Regions from separate parts of the Homo sapiens genome. Here region 1 is linked to region 2. The links are contacts of gene promoters, found by promoter capture Hi-C in human tissues and cell types (Jung and others, 2019). All regions are on one chromosome and are shown on one strand. The core of a region is centred on a gene start or on the middle of the fragment in contact, and the rest is flanking DNA. Distances in the headings are between cores, read along the strand shown. Region 1 overlaps GALNS (galactosamine (N-acetyl)-6-sulfatase). Region 2 holds the start of IL17C (interleukin 17C).

The links. The method cuts DNA at HindIII sites, captures the fragments that hold promoters and counts their contacts. A contact is called where the count stands out against the background at its distance.
Region 1: a contact is called between a fragment that was not itself captured here and the fragment with the promoter of IL17C in region 2, in 2 of the 25 tissues and cell types used here (aorta and mesenchymal stem cells).

The regions. Positions count from the first base shown.
Region 1 is chr16:88,846,857-88,852,584 of GRCh38, forward strand. The region is part of intron 1 of GALNS (galactosamine (N-acetyl)-6-sulfatase); the gene reads right to left. Among named protein-coding and RNA genes, the nearest start is that of GALNS, 7.2 kb to the right of the region's middle. RefSeq lists an enhancer at 3,318-3,487. The HindIII fragment of the contact is 6,360 bases long and covers 1,156-5,728 here.
Region 2 is chr16:88,637,063-88,642,739 of GRCh38, forward strand. It overlaps IL17C (interleukin 17C), which reads left to right and starts at 1,510. Exons shown (of 3, transcript NM_013278.4): 1 at 1,510-1,585; 2 at 1,919-2,247; 3 at 2,752-3,406. The coding sequence starts at 1,580. The coding sequence ends at 3,010. It overlaps LOC124903755 (a long non-coding RNA gene), which reads left to right. Exons shown (of 2, transcript XR_007065181.1): 2 at 1-372. RefSeq lists an enhancer at 3,555-4,382. The HindIII fragment of the contact is 16,303 bases long and covers 1-5,677 here.

The DNA of each region.
Region 1 (5,728 bases), core at 3,086-5,585, 210 kb after region 2:
TAAGCTCCCGACCCCCGTGTGTGGTCCCAGGAGGCTCCTGGGATGGGTGAGATGGGGGTGTGGCCAGGGGGTTACTGAGAAGCCCACTTAGTGTGAACAGACATTCACGACACCTGGTTGTGTGGACACCTGTGGACACACCTGGACGGCAGGGAGGGAAAACCTCTTAGTAAAGCAAGTATCTGCAGCCCAGCCATGTCTGGCAGCCAAAGCCTTCAGGAGGAACGCAAACAGCTCCACCCGCAGCTCTTAAGCACACTGGAGACCACCGATGGTTCTTTTTTTAAGTCTCTGAAATACTTTTCTCTCTCGTTGACCAGCCTGGGCAACAAGGTGAGACCCCATCTCTATAAAAAATCAAAAAATCAGCTGGGCATGGTGGCACACACCTGTAATCCCAGCTACTTGGGAGGCTGAGGCAGGAGAATCCCCTGAGCTCAGGAGGCAGAGGCTGCAGTGAGCTGAGATCGCGCCACGGCAGTCCAGCCTAGGTAACAGACAGAGAACCCTGTCTCAAAAAAATAAAAAACAAAAACCTGCCACTTTTCTCCAAATTCACCCCATCCAGCCTCCTCCTGTCACAAGTGGCTCCAGGACTCACCCACAGAGTAGGACTGCCACCTGCATGGACAGCAGGGACCTTGAGGAGGGCTGTGCCTGGAGGCCGAGTGGGGCTCACCTGCCCATCGGGCCCTTGTAAAGTTTCCACCATTTCAAATGACCCCAAGACAGGCTGCATGGGCCCTGGTGCTCCAAGAGCCGGAGAGAGGCTCACTTTGGTCTCTCCACAGTTCACCACGACAGGGACTAGAGTCTGATCGCTGATTGTCTAAGGTTGATTTTTACCAAACAAAACAAAACATTAAAAGTGAACTCACTGGAAACTGGAGCCCTCACACACCATGTAAGAACGTGACACGCAGCACCTGGTGAGAGGTCCGGCAGCGCCACGCAGGGTGGCCACGCCGCCCGGCAGCGCCTCCCTGGTACACGCCCAACAGAACTGAAAAGTGTGTCCACGTGGAAACCTGTGCATGAACCAACACCCACAGCGGCTCGCTCCCTGGCAGCCAAGCTGGAAACACCCGGATGCCCATCCATGGGTGGAAGCCTCAGCCACACGTGGTCCCTCCACACTGTGGACCATGACTCAGCCACGAAAAGGAATGGAGTCCTCACACAGGCTGTGTGTGTGAAGCCCAAAAACCCTGTGTGAGGGGAAAATAGACACAAGGCCCATGAGCCGTAAGATTCCATTCACCGGACACGTCAGAAAAGGCAGATCCTTAGAGACAGAAAGGGGAGCGGGTCGGCCAGGGGCTTCGGGGAGCACAAGGGAGTGACCCCCATCAGGGCTGGGGCTTCCTTCCGTGGTGACAAAGATGATGTGACGATGTGTGGTGGCAGGACGACTCTGAGAACACACTAAAAATGACCCGCACACTTTCACCAGCGAATTCCGTCTCAGTAAAGCGGCTATAAAAGAATGAAAGGCCGGGCGCGGTGGTTCACGCCTGTAATCCCAGCACTTTGGGAGGCCGAGGCAGGTGGATCACGAGGTGGTCAGGAGATCGAGACCATCCTTGCTAACACAGTGAAACCCCGTCTCTACCAAAAATACAAAAAATTAGCCAGGCGTGGTTGCAGGCGCCTGTGGTCCCAGCTACTCGGGAGGCTGAGGCAGGACAGCCTGGGTGACAGTGAGACTCCGTCTGAAAAAAAAAAAAAAAGGAAGTGCGGGCATCCTGGTTTTCTGCAGATGGACCAGGGGCTCCCCTGACACTGCTGGGTCGGGGCCGGTGGGCGTTTGACTCGCTGGGTCCTGGTAAGTCAAAGAAGCAGCAGCCTCGGGGCCTGTGTGAAGTGACAGGGGTCTGAACAGAGGGGAAGCCCTCACCGGGGGCGGGGGTGGCAGCGTGCTGACTGGGAACGGCTGCTGGAGGGATGGGCGCTGGGCCCCGGGGACCGCGGGAGGACAGTGGGCCGCTCTGGGCGCACGTGGGTGGCTGGACATCCAGGTCTGCGTGGTCACACCTTGGTCTTTGTCTGGATGCAATGATCCATTTCCCCGGTGGACGGCAGGCTACATGGCCCCTGCCTGTAAGGCTCAGCTTGGCAGGGTGGCCGCTCCTTGCCTCAGCCCCTCCTAACGTGTGGAGTCCCAGAGCTGGGCCAGGTCTGGGCTTTTTCCTCTCAAAGGCCCTCCATGTCTCATGGGACACAATTCTGTTTGGCCCTTTTAGCTTTGGATCCCTTTTGAGATGGTTTATTTTTTTGAGACAGGGTCTCACTCTGACAAACAGGCTGAAGTACAGTGGCGCGATCTTGGCTCACTGCAACCTCTGCCTTCCGGGCTCAGGTGATCCTCCCACCTCAGCCTCCTGAGTAGCTGGGACTACAGGCACATGCCACCATGCCCAGTTAATTATTATTATCATTATTTTTTGAGATGGAGTCTCACTCTGTCACCCAGGTTGGAGTGCAGTGGCGTGGTCTTGGCTCACTGCAACCTCCGGCTCTTGGGTTCAAGCAATTCGCCTGCCTCAGCCTCCTGAGTAGCTGGAATTATAGGCACCCACCACCAAGCTCATCTAATTTTTGTATTTTTTTTATAGAGATGGGGTTTCACCATGTTGGCCAGGCTGGTCTTGAATACTGACCTCAGGTGATCCACCTGCCTCAGCCTCCCAAAGTGCTGGGATTACAGGTGTGAACCACCGTGTCAGGCCAACTTTTTTGTATTTTTGGTAGAGATGGAGTTTTGCCACGTTGCCCAGGCTGGTCTTGAGTGAACTGAGCTCAAGCAGTCCACCCGCCTCCACCTCCCAAAGTGCTGAGATCCCAGGTGTGAGCCACCACGCCCAGCCCTGAGATGGTTTATTTTGAAGTCACTGAAATGGCTTTTCTGAGGACAATGGAGGCTGGAATGAAAGGAGGACCTAGAGAGAGGTGTCCCCTGAAGCTGATGAGGAAGAAAGGGAGGTGGGAGGACAGGGGGCAGGACGCCCGCAGAGCTGCTCATGGGCTGAGAAGGGACCTTGGGCTCAGTGGCACCTAGTCACAGTGGGCGAATGCGCCCATGTCAGGGTGAGGTGCATCCCACTGAGGCAGCAGAAACCTGCAGTGCAGGCTGGGACGGTACAGCTCCCTGAGGCCAGCCTGAGGGGGACTGGCCACACACGCCCAAAGCTCCTTGCCCTCCACCTCCCCGAGTGCAGATTCATCCTCTCAGGTGGCTTCTGCACTTCCTGCTGTCTCCAGTCCAGGTGGGAGAGTACAGAATGGCAGGTGGGCCGGGGGCACAAGGCCTGGGATGGGAGGGAGCAGTATGTTTCGCCCGTTACACTGTCTGCCCATGCCCAGGACCACTGCTGGGCTCCCTTCGGGCTGGGAGTGAGGCCGCACATCTGAATACTGGGTGCCATGTGCCCGACCCTCCCTGCAGGCTGCGTCCTGAGGCTTCCCGAGGCGGGTCTGGCCTCCCCAGAAGGTCGGCAGTCAGCAGAGCTGCGTCCGGATCTGCTTGTGCTCACCTGGGTCATCCTCCTACCTGTTCCAGGCCACAAATAACATGAATGGATGCAGCGGAAAATGCTGTAAAGGGAGTGGGCTCCACGCTCATCACTCACCAGAAAATACTGCGGGGAGGAGTCCCAGGGCTTGAGGGAGGGGGCTCCACGCTCACCACTGACTCAGAAGATACCGCAAGGGAGCACTCTCGCTGGGAGGAGTCCCAGGTCTTGGCGACAGTCCTACTCACTGCCATGACTTACAACGGGGAGGGCATCAGCCAGGGGAGAAGGTGCGGGCGGGGCCGGGGAGACCAGCCGCAGCGTGGAACCCTCCCCAGGCGGAGCCACACGGGACGCTCGGGCTGCGAGCACAGGTGCGGGATGCTGACGGGGAAGCTGTGCGAGACTCAGTTCCCAGGGCTTTTGCCTAGGCTGGCAGTGCGGCCGCCTCTGCCTGGCATGTGCCGAGACTCTTTATGCCCAGAAGGAGGATGCTGGGCATAAATCGTGGCATGTGCAAAAACAGTGTGGCAAGGTGAGCTGCTCCTATCAGCGAACAGCGGGGGGACCTCCTGTTCCCAGACGCCAGCCGAGGGCAAAAACCTCCCACACATGTGCCTTCTGACCAGCCGAGGGCAACGTCCCACACGTGGGCCTTCTGAGGACAGCGTCCCAGGCTGCTGGGCCAGCTCTCATCTGCTGACCCTGTTCTTTCATTATTTATCGGCGCCTTTCTTGGCTATGAAAAGCAGGTGTGGACAGCCTCCCTGCAGAGTGAGCAGGTTACCATTGAACATCTAAAACCCCCACAGGGCACCACGGGCAGGAACCACCTTTCTTCTCTCCCTTAAAAGTCCTAAAAGGGCTGGATCCAGTGGTTCACGTCTGTTATCCCAACACTTTGGGAGGCTGAGGAGGGAGGATCGCTTGAGCTCAGGAAGTCAAGACCAACCTGGGTCTCACAGACAGACACTGTCACTAAAAAAAACTTTTTTTTTAATTAGCCGGGTGTGGGGATTCCGTTCCAACATGGCTGAATAGGAACAGCTCCGGGCTGCAGCTCCCAGCGTGATTGACGCAGAAGACGGCGATTTCTGCATTTCCAACTGAGGTGCCTGGTTCATCCTACTGGGACTGGTTGGACAGTGAGTGCAGCCCATGGAGGGTGAGCCGAAGCAGGGTGGGGCATCGCCTCACTCAGGAAGTGCGAGGGGTTGGGGGATTTCCCTTTCCTAGCCAAGGGAAGCCGTGACAGACTGCACCTGGAAAATCAGGACACTCCCGCCCAAATAGTGCGCTTTTCCAACGGTCTTAGCTAACGACACACCAGGAGATTATATCCCGGGCCTGGCTCGGAGGGTCTCATGCCCACGGAGCCTTGCTCACTGCTAGCACAGCAGTCTGAGATCCACCTGCGAGGTGGCAGCCTGCCTGGGGAGGGGCGTCCGCCATTGCTGAGGCTTGAGTAGGTAAACAAAGCGGCAGGGAAGCTCGAACCGGGCAGAGCCCACCGCAGCTCTGCAAAGCCTGCTGCCTCTGTAGACCCCACCTCTAGGAGCAGGGAATAGCTGAACAAAAGGCAGCAGAAACTTCGGCAGACTTAAACGTCCCCGTCTGACAGCTCTGAAGAGAGCAGTGGTTCTCCCGGCACAGTGTTTGAGCTCTGAGAACGGACACATTGCCTCCTCAAGTGGGTCCCTGACCCCCGTGTAGCCTAACTGGGAGATACTTCCCAGTAGGGGCCCACTGACACCTCATACAGGCAGGTGCCCCTCTGGGACAAAGCTTCCAGAAGAAGGATCAGGCAGCAATATTTACTATTCTGCAATAGTTGCTGTTCTGCAGCCTCCACTGGTGATACCCAGGCAAACAGGGTCTGGAGTGGACCTTCAGCAAACTCCAACAGACCTGCAGCTGAGGGACCTGACTCTTATAAGGAAAATTAACAAACAGAAAGGAATAGCATCAACATCAACAAAAAGGACATCTACGCCAAAACCCCATCTTTAGGCCACCAGCATCAAAGACCAAAGGCAGATAAAACCACAAAGATGGGGAGAAACCAGAGCAGAAAAGCTGAAAATTCTAAAAACCAGAGCACCTCTTCTCCTCCAAAGGATCGCAGCTCCTCGCCAGCAAGGGAACAAAGCTGGACAGAGAATGACTCTGACGAGCTGACAGAAGTAGGCTTCAGAAAGTCGGTAATAACCAACTTC
Region 2 (5,677 bases), core at 260-2,759:
CTGAGGGGACCAGGGCGGACAGATTCCCCCACCTCTGATGTGGCCAGGGGCCCTGGGGACTCCAGGACAACCCTCCTCAGGATGACGTCAAACCCCCGGCATTCAAACCTTCCCAAGTTCTGGCTGCAGCTGTCCCTTTCCGGGGAAACAAAGGCACCTCCAGCGCCCCCACCCCCAGCCAGCCTCACCGATCAAGGAGGCCAAAGGCAGCTCCCGGCCCCGCTTACATAAAGCTTCCTGTGTGTGCTGGTCACACCTCACACCTCACGCCTCACGCCTCATGCCTCATTCACACCTCACACCTCACTCCTCACACCTCCAACTCAGACTTTTTAGCTTGAACTTTTTTCTCAATAAAACCACAGAAGCCCAGGCCGGGTGCAGTGACTCATGCCTGTGATCCCAGCACTTTGCGAGGCCGAGGTGGGCAGATCACGAGGTCAGGAGATCGAGACCATCCTGGCTAACATGGTGAAACCCCGTCTCTACTAAAAATACAAAAAAATTAGCCAGGTGTGGTGGCGGGCGCCTGTAGTCCCAGCTACCCGGCAGGCTGAGGCAGGAGAATGGCGTGAACCCAGGAAGCTGAGCTTGTAGTGAGCCGAGATCGCACCACTGTACTCCCCGCCTGGGCGACAGAGTCAGACTCCGCCTCAAAAAAACAACAAAAAAAAAAACAACACAGAAACCCAACAGAGACCTGAAGACGTGCCTGCCTCCCCCATCTCCGGGACCTCTCCCACCTGGGTGAAGGGGGCACGTGAGCCTCACCTGATCTTGACCATCTCAGCTAAAACACTGAACCACCCTTGGCACCCACCAGCAGCAGACGGAGAAGAACTGTATAGGGTGCAAAAGCGCCCCGCCACCATCAGGTCCAGATGAAAACCTACAAGTTGAATCAGCAAGGTGCTGACGGATACGCAAGCAGAAACCCTCTTATAGGAGGTTCAAGGCTGGGCGCAGTGGCTCACTCCTGTAATCCCAGCACTTTGGGAGGCCAAGGCGAGCAGATCACTTGAGGTCAGGAGCCTCAGACCAGCCTGGCCGATATGGCAAAACCCTGTCTGTACTAAAAATACAAAAATTAGCCAGGCATGGTGGGGGGTGCCTGTAATCCCAGCTACTCGGAAGCCTGAGGCAGGAGAATCGCTTGAACCTGGGATGTGGAGGTTGCAGTGAGCTGGGACAGCACCATTTCCCTCCAGCTCGGGTGACAGCAAGACCCTGTCTCAAAAAAAAAAAAAAAGTTTGAGAATGTCAGACAAGGCAGCACCCTGTGTAGGTGCTCAGGTTGGGCGGAGTCTCTCTCGGGGGAGGGGGGTAACAGGACAGCGCCTCCCGGGGCCTCCTTGCATGTCTGTGTCCTGATGCACAGCAGGCGGGGGCTGCGGGGACCAGAGAAGGAAGAAGCGCCCCAGCTGGGCACTTCCCGAGGAGGAAGTGGTGCCGGAATTTCCCCCAGGTGTGGCCTCAGGTATAAGAGCGGCTGCTGCCAGGTGCATGGCCAGGTGCACCTGTGGGATTGCCGCCAGGTGTGCAGGCCGCTCCAAGCCCAGCCTGCCCCGCTGCCGCCACCATGACGGTGAGCCTCTCCACATGCCGCTCGGATGGATGCTGCTTGGATGTGCAGCCTGGCATGGAAGGGCTGGGGTTCTCTGAGCCTGGGAGGAGGGTGTTGGGATGGGGTCTGGGAAACCCCTCAGTCTGGGGGTAGGGGAGGCAGCTGCAGATCCTCGGAGCGCTGGCATGCTGGGTGTCTTGGGCTGAAGGGCTAGCCTCTCTGGGCTTCAGTTTCCCCATCTATAGAGGGAGGGCTGTACTCCATCTTTCCGCTGGGAACAAGGAAAGCTGAGGTGGAAGTGAGGTGCCCCCTGCCCTGGGCACCTCCTAACCACCCACCTGCCTGTTTCACCAGCTCCTCCCCGGCCTCCTGTTTCTGACCTGGCTGCACACATGCCTGGCCCACCATGACCCCTCCCTCAGGGGGCACCCCCACAGTCACGGTACCCCACACTGCTACTCGGCTGAGGAACTGCCCCTCGGCCAGGCCCCCCCACACCTGCTGGCTCGAGGTGCCAAGTGGGGGCAGGCTTTGCCTGTAGCCCTGGTGTCCAGCCTGGAGGCAGCAAGCCACAGGGGGAGGCACGAGAGGCCCTCAGCTACGACCCAGTGCCCGGTGCTGCGGCCGGAGGAGGTGTTGGAGGCAGACACCCACCAGCGCTCCATCTCACCCTGGAGATACCGGTGAGGACCTGGGGATTCCGCTGTGGCGTGGGGCTGCCCCTCCCCTGGCGGGGCCCTGACTGCCCGGAGAGCTCTCTGGGCCTTGGTGGTTCTCACCTGTCAAGTGGGCGTGGCCACCTGAGCTCCCTCCCTCCGGCCCTCCTGACCTGGACGGCTGAGCTGCTGCTTGCGGCTGGCCGTGCCCTGCCTCCCACTGTCCTAGGTGGCCAGGGTCCCCTGGGGAAATTCTGGGCCCGTCACCTGAGCTCCTGCAGAAGTGGGGCTGGGTGATGAAGTGGAAGGGAGGCTCCTAGAGGCCTCCGGACCCTGCTCTGTGCTCTTGGAGGGCCCTGGGGAGACGTGGATTACCACCACATGTGAGCCCGACTGCACCCCAAGCCCGTGTGGCTCAGCCCTCGCTGCCTCAGGTCCTATCCTGAGTACACGGAGAGGGGCCCTGAGGGGAGAGGGGCCTCCAGGAGGACAGGGTAGGGCCAGAGACTCACTGTGCACCCCGTCCCGCAGTGTGGACACGGATGAGGACCGCTATCCACAGAAGCTGGCCTTCGCCGAGTGCCTGTGCAGAGGCTGTATCGATGCACGGACGGGCCGCGAGACAGCTGCGCTCAACTCCGTGCGGCTGCTCCAGAGCCTGCTGGTGCTGCGCCGCCGGCCCTGCTCCCGCGACGGCTCGGGGCTCCCCACACCTGGGGCCTTTGCCTTCCACACCGAGTTCATCCACGTCCCCGTCGGCTGCACCTGCGTGCTGCCCCGTTCAGTGTGACCGCCGAGGCCGTGGGGCCCCTAGACTGGACACGTGTGCTCCCCAGAGGGCACCCCCTATTTATGTGTATTTATTGTTATTTATATGCCTCCCCCAACACTACCCTTGGGGTCTGGGCATTCCCCGTGTCTGGAGGACAGCCCCCCACTGTTCTCCTCATCTCCAGCCTCAGTAGTTGGGGGTAGAAGGAGCTCAGCACCTCTTCCAGCCCTTAAAGCTGCAGAAAAGGTGTCACACGGCTGCCTGTACCTTGGCTCCCTGTCCTGCTCCCGGCTTCCCTTACCCTATCACTGGCCTCAGGCCCCCGCAGGCTGCCTCTTCCCAACCTCCTTGGAAGTACCCCTGTTTCTTAAACAATTATTTAAGTGTACGTGTATTATTAAACTGATGAACACATCCCCAGAGGCCAACATTCAATGCGACATTCTCCCGTTCAGCCCTGGTCCAGGCCAGCCATGGACCCAATTCTGGGGTGTCCTTCCAGAAAGGTCTACGCAGCCGCGAGCAGTGCATGCAGGTGGGACTGAGCTGTAGCACGGGGGGGTCACAGGTGTCCCTGCTCTGCCCACACAGTGTCTCCCCTGAGGACACCCCTGGGAACAGGAACCAGCCTCCTTCCTCAAGCAGTGCCTTGAGCCCTATGCTTTGTAATGATGTGAGCGCCTAGGGGCACCCTCTCGGCCCCCAAGGCAAGTCTCTGAGGATGAACTGCAGGGCTGTCGGCTCAAGGCAGGGCCCCCAGCCTTCGTGGTTCGGATCAACATCCAAGGCCAAGCGCCCTCCCTGATGGTGAACTAGCCACGCTTCGGGACCCAGGCTCTGTTGGAGATTTTAGTTAAGGGGCCCCGGGGGGAGCAGCCCCAGTCGTGGAAAGGGGGCCCAGGCCTGTGACAGTCTCAGGGTCTCAGTCTCTAGGCCCCCGGCCCCAAGGGCTGACATTGCCATGGGGCTGCTGGGCAGTTGTTAGCCCCTCCCCTGCCTGGCCCCCTGGCTCACCCACCTACTGCGTCCAGGTGCCTGGAGATGGGGGTGGGGGTGCTGCACAGAAGAACAAGGACTCCACTCAGACTCCCAAAGCAAGAGGCCTCAGGGAAGACTTCCTGGAGGTGGTGGCCCTTGTCCAGGAGATGGAATTTTCATTCAACACATTTATTGAGTTTCTTTTCTTTCTTGAAAAAGGGTCTCGCTCTGTTGCCCAGGCTGGAGTGCAGTGTGGTATGACTTCAGCTCACTGCCACCCCCACCTTCTGAGTTCAAGCGATCCTCCCAGCTCAGCTTCCCAGTACAGGCGTGCACCACCACACCCAACTCATATTTGTATTTTTAGTGGAGGCGGGGTTTCGCCATGTTGGCCAGGTTGGTCTCGAACTCCTGAGCTCAAGTGATCCTCCCACCTCGGCCTCCCAGAGTGCTGGGATTACAGGCGTGAGCCACCGCACCCAGCCATATGAGTTTCTACTAAGCACCTGGCACTGGGAACAGGCCGAGAACAAAATGGTGAAAACCCTTCCTGCCTCCACGGTGACTAATGAAACAAGTGGTGTGTAGTCTGTGAGTGAGTCCAGGACAGAGGCTCTGGGGGAGGGGCTGCAGTTCTTTTTTTTTTTTTTGAGGAGTCTCGCTCTGGCCCAGGCTGGAGTGCAATGGTGCGATCTCGGCTCACTGCAAGCTCCGCCTCCCGGGTTCACACCATTCTCCTGCCTCAGCCTCCTGAGTAGCTGGGACTACAGGCGCCCGCCACCACGCCCGGCTAATTTTTTGTATTTTTAGTAGAGACGGGGTTTCACCGTGTTAGCCAGGATGGTCTCGATCTCCTGACCTCATGATCTGCCCGCCTCGGCCTCCCAAAGTGCTGGGATTACAGGCGTGAGCCACCGCGCCCGGCCAAGGGGCTGCAGTTCTAAGCAGAGGGTCAGGGAGGCCTCGAAGACCTGAAGGGGAGGAGGAAGGAGCCAGGCAGCCATGCAGGGAACAGCTCCAGGCAGCAGGAAGAGCCCATGCAAAGGCCCTGAGAAGACACATGCTGCGTGTGTCCAAGGGTCAGAGAGTGGCCTGCGTGGCTGATGCCAGGTGAGAGGGGGACCGCAGGGGCAGGGCAGGGCGCTGGGGGTGCAGATCATGTCTGCCCTGGGGCCATCAGAAGCTTGTGGCTGTCACTGGAGGTAGCTGAGCCTGTGGGTTCTGAGCCTGCGGATTCTGAGCCGGAGGCACTGGGGTGAGGCTTTGGGTTTCAATGGCAGCATCAGGATGGTTTCAGGGGATGAGGGCAGAGCGGGAGGCGGCAGGTGGCCTGGGTGGGGATGGCCCATGTAGCTGGGGTCTGGATTTGGGCCAGGATTGGATGTGGGGTGTGGGGGTTTCAAGGGTGACCTGAAGCTTGGTGACCTGGGGGGACGGCTGAGATGAGGCTGGATTGAGACGTCTGTATGGTGCCGAGTGTTGGCTGGTGGGGGGTGGATTCTGAAGGCCCCCAGGAACAGAGGACCCTGGCTCTGAAGTGTGAGTTGCTGGGAGAGCAGGTGGACAAGCAGCAGGCAAGGGCTTCTCCGGCCTCAGGGGAGTGGGTGCCTTGGCGAGAGCCCAAAGGTGGGGGACGTGGCTGACGCCGGGCAAAGCTTTGGGGGCACCGGGCTGGGGTGGTGGTGAGGACCTGTGGGCAGGTGTGTG